3 separate regions of the Homo sapiens genome follow, and regions 2 and 3 are each linked to region 1. Evidence: promoter capture Hi-C in human tissues and cell types (Jung and others, 2019). All regions are on one chromosome and are shown on one strand. Each heading gives the region's core, a stretch centred on a gene start or on the middle of the fragment in contact. The rest is flanking DNA. Distances are from core to core; before and after follow the strand shown. Region 1 holds the start of DLK1 (delta like non-canonical Notch ligand 1). Region 2 overlaps WDR25 (WD repeat domain 25). Region 3 overlaps WDR25 (WD repeat domain 25).

Region 1 (3,129 bases), core at 277-2,776:
TGGACTAGAGGGCCAGGAGGTCAAAGCATCCAGCCTCCAGGTTCACAGTGGTGAGATCACACCCCCCTGCAGCACTGTGAAGAAGGGGAGGCCGCGAGCTGGGTGGGCACCCACTCCCTGCATCTAGGATATGTATGCAAATTAATATATGCAAATTAAGTATCCTAAACGACCCACCCAAAGATTGGGACGCCTGGGACCCTTCCCCCAGGAGGTGAAATATCTTTAATCCCCTCCTACCCCTCTCCCTCCCTATCTTTCTGAGCCTCCCCCATCCAGACTGGGTGCAGGGGTGCAGAGCTTTCCTCTCCAGCAGGGCTCTAAGCCTAAGCCGGGGGCAATGGGGAGGAGGGGTGTCTGAGGAGCACTCCCTCTCCCTGGGAGCTCTGCAGAGGAAGAGGGTCTCTGGCAATCAGCATCCTCTACCTCCACCTCTCCAGCGGGCGACCCCTCAGAGAAGGTCTCCCAGTGAGTCTGGAATACGTGCCGAGTGCCTGGAGTGCTATTGTGTGTATGTGAGAGCACATTGGTGAGGCTGCCCATGCATGCCACTGTGGACAAAGACAGATGCGATCGTGTGTGTGTGGGGACTGCGTATATGTTTTTGTCAGTGTGTGTGACCACGAGTCAGCTGGGTATGTGTGCTTGTGGGTATCAGGTGCATGGCTGTGCGTACATGTGTGCGTAAGAGTCGGTGCATTTGTGTTTCAGCGCGGCTAAGGCCCTGACTGAGATGCTGTGTGTGCGGGGGTGGGTGTGACTGAATGCGGGCACGGGTGTCCGTCTGTTTATACGTGTGTTTGCGTGTTTGGGTGTGCAGGTGGCTCTGCGTAAGCGTCTGTGTGCAGGGGGTCGGCACATGGGGGAGGATGCCCATGGTTGGGTAACCGCAGGTCCGCTTGACCCTCTGCCACCTAGGACTGTGTCTATACGGCGTCTGGGCTACAGTGTGTTTGAGTTGCCGTGTGCGTTTCCGTTGCGGGGTGTGGGTTGCCACGGGGCAACTGCATTTTTCTGCGTCTTCATGGCCAGGGGTACAGGGGGCGTCGGGCTTTTCCTGGGGGTTTTTCTGTGTGCGTGTGTAATTATGTGCTTAGTTCACATCTTCATAGTGCGCCTTTGTGTTTTCCTGGGTATCTAACCATTGCACGTGTGCCCGGGACTTCAGCGATAAGTGTTTCGGTGTTCCTGCGTGCGGATTTGTGCTCTCCGGGGAGGTCTGCGGCCCAGGTTCGATTCCTGCGACTTGTCCTAGGCAGGCCTGTATGTGCGCGGCGGCCGCGTGCTGTACAGTGTGAGGGAACGTGTACCAAACGCTCGCGGGATACCTGTGCCCGTCTAGCCAAGAGTGCACCCGTGTGCGCGAGCGGGCTTCTGGGACGCCGCCGTGGTCGGGGGCGGCCCTGCGAGGGGAGGGGGTCACAGGGACTGGCCGGCGCCGGCCCCGTGCGCACGGAGGCGGGGGCGGGGGGCGGGGGCCGCGAGGGGGGAGGCGGTACGAAAAGGGCGGCGCGCGCGGCGGCGGCGGCAGCTCCCCGGCAGCGGCGGTGGAGAGCGCAGCGCGCAGCCCGGTGCAGCCCTGGCTTTCCCCTCGCTGCGCGCCCGCGCCCCCTTTCGCGTCCGCAACCAGAAGCCCAGTGCGGCGCCAGGAGCCGGACCCGCGCCCGCACCGCTCCCGGGACCGCGACCCCGGCCGCCCAGAGATGACCGCGACCGAAGCCCTCCTGCGCGTCCTCTTGCTCCTGCTGGCTTTCGGCCACAGCACCTATGGTGAGTTCCCCGGCGGCCCGGCTCGCGCCCCCTCTGGGGAAGCCTGCGACTCCCCGCCGGCCGCCCGGTGCCCCGCACGCCCCGTCTCGTGAGCCCCAACTCCGCCCGTCCCGCCTAGCCCTAAGCCCCGCGCTGTGCCTGTCTCGCCCTACCCACCACGCTCGCATGCCAAGGCCCGTCCCAGGGGTCCCAGGGCGCAGGGGATGTGTGAGACCCCCAGCCCCTTCCCGCCCTGCAGAAGTGGCGCCAGAGGGGTGTCGGTGCGCTGAGCAAGGAGGTATGGAAAAATGGGGTGCTGTTGTGGAGTCTTCTATGAAAATACTCTGGGGTGCAACTTTGGGGTGTCCCTGTGTGAGCGTTCTGGAACAGGTCTCGGGGCGGGAGTGGGGGACGACTTTGCCGTCTTAGCCCCCAATTCCCAGAGAAGCCCAGCCTGAGCCCTTCCTGCGTGGCGCGTTTCTGTAGGTGAGGGGCTGCGACACTTCTGTCTGCAGCGGCCATCTGTCTCTGACAGCGAGAGAGTTGCCCCCTTCCTGCAGCGCCCCCCCACTCATTGCACCAGTGGTTGTAAGGGGGCTGTCTAGAAAGCTGGGGAGCTGGTTGAGTAAATGCACACAGTAGGTGCCTGTTAAAGTGTCAGAATCTCTAAGCAGTGTTGTTGCAACCTCAGCCCGCTAAGCAAAACCCTGTGTCGTCATCGTTTTTTTAATGCGAAGAGTCTGGGGTAGGGGAAAGAGGGAAGATTTGACCTGGGTGCCCGGCTTAATAGGGATGAACCTTAAAAAGAATGCAGACGCCTTACTGGGGCGCCCACCAGGTGAACCTGTCTGGGCTTTCCCGGAGTTGAACACCTCAAAATCTGCTCCTCTTTTCAGCTCAGGTTGCAAAAGTGACGGTCAGGCTGCATGCCCAGGGCTCAACATATTTCCCTCCACGGTCCCCGTCCCCGCTGTTAGGAGGACTTGAGGTGTCGTATTTGCTTTTGGGAGTCCGAGGAGAAGGTGTTTCTCCTGCTCCTAAGAACGAGGGAGAGTGTACTGTGGTCATTTCATTGCTGGGAACGTGGCAGAGATGTTTTTCCTGAGTGCACTGAGCCCCATCCATGCTCGGATAGGAAGTGCCTACTGTGTGCCAGGCTGGTAGGACCCAAGAGGGCTGTTGGTGCCCTCGAGGGCAGTGGTGGGCTGTGTGGGCGAAGACAGCCTTTGCCTTGGCCTGGGGCCTGGTGGGGTGAATTGTATAACCTTTCTTGTACCTCAGGGGCTGAATGCTTCCCGGCCTGCAACCCCCAAAATGGATTCTGCGAGGATGACAATGTTTGCAGGTAATAGAGTGGCTCCTCAGAGGCAGCTTGTAGGG
Region 2 (3,129 bases), core at 325-2,824, 330 kb before region 1:
GGTAGCTGTTTAGTGATAACAGGTTTCTCATTCCTTTTTTCTTTTTTTTTTCTTCCTTTTTTCCTCCTTCTGGATTTAACCCAGCCAGCCTTTTGGGCTAATGTTGACATTAGCTAGAATTCGAATTTAGACTGCTTACCACATTGATGTTTTTACACAACCTTCCTGTGGTTTATCGGATAATTGAGTGTGTCTTGAGGCAGTAACTGAGTTGAAATGTGTTGCATTTAATGAGTGAAACTAGAGCATGCTTTGCATACCGATAGATGCACATCTGTAGGTGATTTTTCCGACAAAAGTCCCAGCCTAGGACGTTTCCTTCCATTCCTTTCCCTTCCTTCTCTTGCATTTCCCCCCTTTTCCTTTCTCTCTCATCCTTTCTCTCATGTCTTTTTCGGTACTTTTTTCACTATGCTCTCCTTTGGCCTTGCACCTGGTCCTGTCTCCGCCTGCCTTTTCTCCTTTGCATTTCCTCCTTTCCGTCCCCCTGTGCCCCTCTCGCTCTCTCTTGCCAATTCCCATCTTCTATGCCTTTCCCTGCAACAGGCCAGTGAAGCTGTTGCCACGGAAACAGAAGCCCAGCAGAAGCTCTGTTCTGCTTTCCGGATGCTTCTAACGATGATGACGCAGATAATATTGATTTCTAGAATCAGCTAAGCCCTGGCCTGTGGCCTCTGGAGTCCCTTCATTTTCCAAAGGCCAAGCTGATGCCACAGCTCATCATTCTGTTCAGTAGATGGTCATTTTTGATTTCAAAATTGAAACTTCAAAATTTTGAGTAATCTACTTCCCTGTGGCTCCAGAAGACTGGGTGCAACCATGTGAAAAAGACTTACTTGAATTTACTTACATTAACTGAGGGAAAAATACCAGATGAGGAGGGTACGGGTGCTGCAGGTTCCAGGAATAACTTAAGTTACACATGGGAGAGGGTTAGATGCATTTGTTGAATTACTGGGCTGAATGACTGCTTTTAAAGGACTTGGGGGAAAGAGAAGTACAGTTGAGGCCTTAAAAAAGATACTTAATTCAATGAATGTTCAGTGAGGACTGGCCATTTCTGAGACATGGGGTCAGGTGCTGTGGGGCACCAGGAGTGTGAAAAGCACATTTCCTCCTCTGGAGGAGTGGCTTTTTAAGTGACAGAGCTGGGGCATGTGTGTCCTGTACCGCAGTGACATTCCTTGATACTTGTCATGGTGATCCAGTGAGTGCAGCTGTTGTCAGTTCTGCCGTACAACCCACATGGCTGCACATTAACTGGGCTTTGTGGTCCCCTCGGAGGGCTGTTGGCGCCTGGTCCTCAGTGGAGCTGGTTTATGATGGTGGCAGCCTTGCTGCACCTTTCCGGGTTTGACTCAGGCCCAGCTTGTTGGCATTAGCTAGGATTTGGAGTTTTGCCATTCAGCCAGCACCAGCTAATAGCCCAGCAAGGAAGAGTTAGTTCATGGATTATATTTAAGTTAGTACTTATTCCCAAAGGTAACTTTGTTTAATAAAAACCTTAAGCCCTTATTACTGTGCTTCTGGGTATCCTGGCTCCAGTGTGTAAAAATAAGACTTATAAAATTCAAACATTATTTGTGAAAATGCAAAAACATTTTCATTAATACAGGGCATGATAAAAAGCAAAAGGCACTTTCCATCTGTGGCTAAGTGGTCTTTCTGCACTGGGGTCTTTTTGTTTTCATAATCACTTTGCGCTTATTTAAATATTGCCCTTTCAGTCGTGAATTTTAAAGGGAGGAAGCTTTGGTGTGTGAATAACTTTACAACTACCCACAGTATTTCCATCCAGTTGCTATGACTTAAGTTGATAATGGACCCCACACAGTAGTCACTAATGGATGATAATCTAGGAGTGTTTTTGTTATTGTTTTTATTTTAGAAGAAAGGTTTGAAATTAGCATAGTAAATCTCTGTGGGATCTTTGCAAATAAAAGAATGTTCACGTTAAAAACAATTTTCAAGAAAGATGTATGGTAATGAATAAAACATCAGTGAGTGAAAATAAGCGTGTTTAATTATTCAAGTAGAAGTAGTAATTTAAACTAATTATTGCTTGCGGATTTCATAATTCAGTTTTTGTCTCACAATAATATTTCCTCTGGGCCTCCGGGGCGCGTCGGCGGCTGCTCGCTGTTCCTGGGGCGGGAGAGACCTCCCCCTCCCCGTGGCTGCAGCCTCTGCCCCACCGAGCCAGAGCCAGAGAGGCCCAGTTTCTGCTTCTGCCGGCCTCCTCGTGGTCTCAGTCCACATCTATCCCCCTTGCACTGCCTCATTAGGCATTTCCTTGCTTATCACCTTCTCTGGTTGATTCGGGCATCTCAGACCAGTTCTGTCCATTGAGGTCTGAGTGTCGTGGAGGCTGGTCCCCTGCCTCCTCCCCGGTGTCTTAGACTTCCTTGGCAGGGGTGGCCCTGAGCACCCTGCCCATGTCCCCAGGAGGCAAGTCCTTGCCGTTCAGGGCTGCCTCAGGTTGGATCCCCTCCAGGAGGCTCCCCTGCCTGGGGATTGATCACTTCTTCCTCCCCAGTGCTTTGTACCAGCAGGTTCTGGTGGTAGTAAGAGAATTACAGAGAGAATTTGTTGGTTGACATTTTTCTTTTTTGGGCTTCTTTTTACTTTGTTTCTGATCCTAAAGGAAGAAAAACATATTCATACAGAGGAATGGAAAAGTACCAGAGAGCCTGAGAGGCAGTGGGGAGGACACTTCATCCCCTGGAACTTGCACCTGGCTTCTCTGCTCCTGGGTGGCTCTGCACGTGTCTTAGTTCTGCTCATTCTGTGTATGCAGGCACTTGCCATTTTCTCTGTGGAATTTGAGGGCTTGGATGTGATTTTTAGCATGGACACTTTGGAGGGGCTCAGTTACATTCTCCTTGGTGCACCTCCTGGGGTACAACTGGCATTAGCAGGTGCTGATGAAGGAGTAGGAAGTGCTGCAAAGCACTTTTGCTCAATCGTGCGAGGCTTTTAAAACCCAGTTATTACTGCTACTCCCATGAATGCCCATAATGGCACAGGAGGTTTTCTGAACCTTTCTTTATTGCACAAATGCTCCTGGAACAGATCTTGACAATTCAGGTGAATTATTATTCTACCCCTCAGAAGGTAAAGGGAAAGCTT
Region 3 (3,129 bases), core at 459-2,958, 310 kb before region 1:
AGTAGAGACAGCATCTCTATCTGGAACAGATTTATTTTTATTCCAGGATAACAAAGACAATGTCTCCCTTAGGAGCAGAGGTTGGGCAGGTTTACCAGCAGCTGCTTATATAAGATTGGGGCATCCTAATGTCAGGACTCCTCTCTGTAATGCATCCCACTGTGTGTACAGGTAACACCTTGCCTTCATGGGATCGCTATGGGAACTGGGGCTTAGGGAACTGGTGCAGCAGTGTTACCCTGGCTACTACTACTGCTGTGAGTAATAAACTGTTTTCAGTCTCTGACCCAGGGATCTCATGCCTTCTGCTAGTATGTATGAAGCTGTGGCAGGCTAACTTGGTAGTTTGCTAGCAGAGTACTGTCTCAAAGCCCACACAGTTCATGACAGTGCCTCTGGTTGCCAAGCACGATTGGCACAGCTGGTGTCCTCCCTGCTCTGCCGCTGTCCTTCTTTTCTTCTGCATCTCTGTCAGTGCACTGCCACCTGAATCTTTACTGAGCACCTAGTAGGTGTCAGGTCCAGGGGCAGCAGATAGAGTGGGAAGCCAGATATGGTTCTAGCCCTCACAGAGCACGTGTCATTCAGCCTCTGCTGTCCAATCAGCCACTGAGTTGTGACTTCTCTACTTAGAGGTAGTTCTTTATCAAATTCATCTCATTCCTCGCTGCCGTTTGGTTTCTCCCTGTGAAGGGTATTCATTTTCATGGTTGTTTTAAGAGTAAGAGGCAGTACAAGGGAAGTGCCTGGTATAGTTCCTGGTAATCGTAGATGCCCAAATTGTGACTACTGCTGTTGTAATTTCTATTATTACGTATTCTCAACTCTGATTGTCATTCCTTGATGTAAAAACTTTGCTGTTTGCCCTCATACTACAATACAGGTTGCAGCCCAAACAGTACGGGATGCAAACCAACCCATGTCACCGGCCCATTCACCCTGCCCCGATTTCTGTTCCTATCACAAACTGCCTGCTGTGTGCCTTGAATTCTTTCCAGCTCTTTCCCAAACATGACACACCCTTTTAGGCCTTTTCCCTTTCCTTCCTTCTTTTCAGGCAAAGTCTTCCTTATCCCCCTGGACTTGGCTCAAGGGTCCCCTTCTCTCTGTACCCATTCCTTGAGGTTGCCTTTCTCCCTTGTCTCCAGACTGCATAAATGGCAGTGTGGCCTGTGTTGCTGTAGCACCATGTGCACCTGGGCTGTGCCCCGGCAGTGTTCTGTCTTTGGGCTCACTGGGGAGGGAGCACTGGACCATCGTCCCCAGATGCCCAGGGAGAAGCTTGGTGCTCGTTACTGACTGTAGGGTACTTTTCTGTAGCAGGCACTTGGGGCTCACTTATGGGACCCAGTAACTTCACAGTCATGAGGTACTTGATTTGAACTGAGGAGAAAATGTGTCAATACCTTTCCCAGGGAGAGTCACCCTCACAAACCTTGGTCTGGAAGGCCCATCTTAGCCCAGGGGTGAGATCTTGCGTGGATGATTCAGAAGTCACAGTATTCCTGAAAACTAGTGACTCAACAGAATTATATGGCTTTGGGAGAAAGAGTCCCTCCAGGGGCAATCCAACTACCACAGGCCAGGGGCCAAGCTTTGGTGAGCCGAGCCTGGGCCCTGCCCCTCCCTTCTCTATGGGCCTAGGGTTGCTGTGCTGTGTGTGGCATGGCCAGAGTCCTCCGCTCATCTCCTCACCATCTGTTACTTGTGCGTGTCTCCTGTGCCAGGCCTGGTGCTGACACTAGCTCAGGGAGAGAGGCAGCCGTACCTGGAGGAGCTGCTTAGTAGGACACTTGGCACATGCCACATGCTTTGCAGACTTCTCAGTCTCCCAGCCACTCAGGGATTTGTGGGACTGAGTATCTCAGATCCAAGGTGGTCAGGCGAGGGTGCAGGGAGATGGAGCCATGTGTGGGGCCAGGCTCTTTCCCATGACCTAGGTGCCCCTTCCAACCCCCACCATCCTGTTAAGACCCTGAGCAGCCAGGCTGGTTGCTCCAGCCACTCTTCCCTGGTGGCTCCCCTTTCCAGTTCTGAGGCTACTGCGAGTCACCTTCCTCCTCCAGGGAGGGAGAGAGCTGCCTGAGCATTACCTCTGCTTGCGGATGGGGGTGCTAGAGACCGAGCCTTTTCCTTGTTGTCTCTGCCAGTGAGGCTCTGGAGAGTGAGTCAGGAATACAGCTGCACAAATCGCCCTTACTTTGATACTGTGTGATTGGTCTGCAAGACAGACACAGGGCTGACATCGCATTTTCTGCCTGACTTCTTCCTGGCTGCAGTGACCCTGAGCTGTTCCTAGCCTTCCATCGTTTCTGTTGTGGACAGGCGTGTCATGCTGCCCCTGTTCCTCCTGCCCTGGCCTGGCTACTTAGGCTCTTGTGCATGTGCTCATAGGTTCTCATGAAGGTTGTTCTTAGTTTGCTTATGTCTTTTTTTTTTTTTTGAGACGGAGGCTCGCTCTGTCGCCCAGGCTGGAGTGCAGTGGCACCATCTCAGCTCACTGTAACCTCTGCCTCCTGGGTTCAAGCAATTCTCTTGCTTCAGCCTCCTGAGTAGCTGGGATTACAGGCACCAACCACCACGCCTGGCTAATTTTTGTACTTTTAGTAGAGATGTGGTTTCACCATGTTGATCAGACTGGTTTCGAACTCCTGACCTCGTGATCCACACCCCCCACTCAGCCTCCCAAAGTGCTGGGATAACAGGCATGAGCCACTGTGCCCTGCCTTCTTACGTCTTATATCCACACTGCCTGTGATTTTGTACATGATACACACAATGTCACCTAGCACTGGCCTTTCTGACTTTCATGCAACTATTGAAAGTGAAAAATTTGGCCGGGCACCGTGGCTCATGCCTGTAATCCCAGCACTTTGGGAGGCCGAGGTGGGCGGATCACGAGGTCAAGAGATGGAGACCATCCTGGCCAACACGGTGAAACCCCTTCTCTACTAAAAATACAAAAATTAGCTGGGCGTGGTGGTGCACACCTGTACAAGTCCCAGCTACTTTTGGGAGGCTGAGGCAGGAGAATTGCTTGAACCCGGGAGGTAGAGGTTGCAGTGAGCCAAGATTGTGCCACTGCACTCTAGCCTGGCGACTGAGCGAGACTCCGTCTCAAAAAAAAAA

What was found. The method cuts DNA at HindIII sites, captures the fragments that hold promoters and counts their contacts. A contact is called where the count stands out against the background at its distance.
Region 2: a fragment that was not itself captured here is called in contact with the fragment with the promoter of DLK1 in region 1 in 3 of the 25 tissues and cell types used here (bladder, neural progenitor cells and thymus).
Region 3: a contact is called between a fragment that was not itself captured here and the fragment with the promoter of DLK1 in region 1, in 2 of the 25 tissues and cell types used here (IMR-90 fibroblasts and neural progenitor cells).

What each region holds. Positions count from the first base shown.
Region 1 is chr14:100,725,366-100,728,494 of GRCh38, forward strand. DLK1 (delta like non-canonical Notch ligand 1) reads left to right here and starts at 1,527. Exons shown (of 5, transcript NM_003836.7): 1 at 1,527-1,770; 2 at 3,031-3,094. The coding sequence starts at 1,704. The HindIII fragment of the contact is 15,317 bases long and covers 1-3,129 here.
Region 2 is chr14:100,399,044-100,402,172 of GRCh38, forward strand. All of the region lies in intron 2 of WDR25 (WD repeat domain 25), which reads left to right. Among named protein-coding and RNA genes, the nearest start is that of WDR25, 24 kb to the left of the region's middle. The HindIII fragment of the contact is 3,221 bases long and covers 1-3,129 here.
Region 3 is chr14:100,415,517-100,418,645 of GRCh38, forward strand. All of the region lies in intron 2 of WDR25 (WD repeat domain 25), which reads left to right. Among named protein-coding and RNA genes, the nearest start is that of WDR25, 41 kb to the left of the region's middle. The HindIII fragment of the contact is 4,140 bases long and covers 1-3,129 here.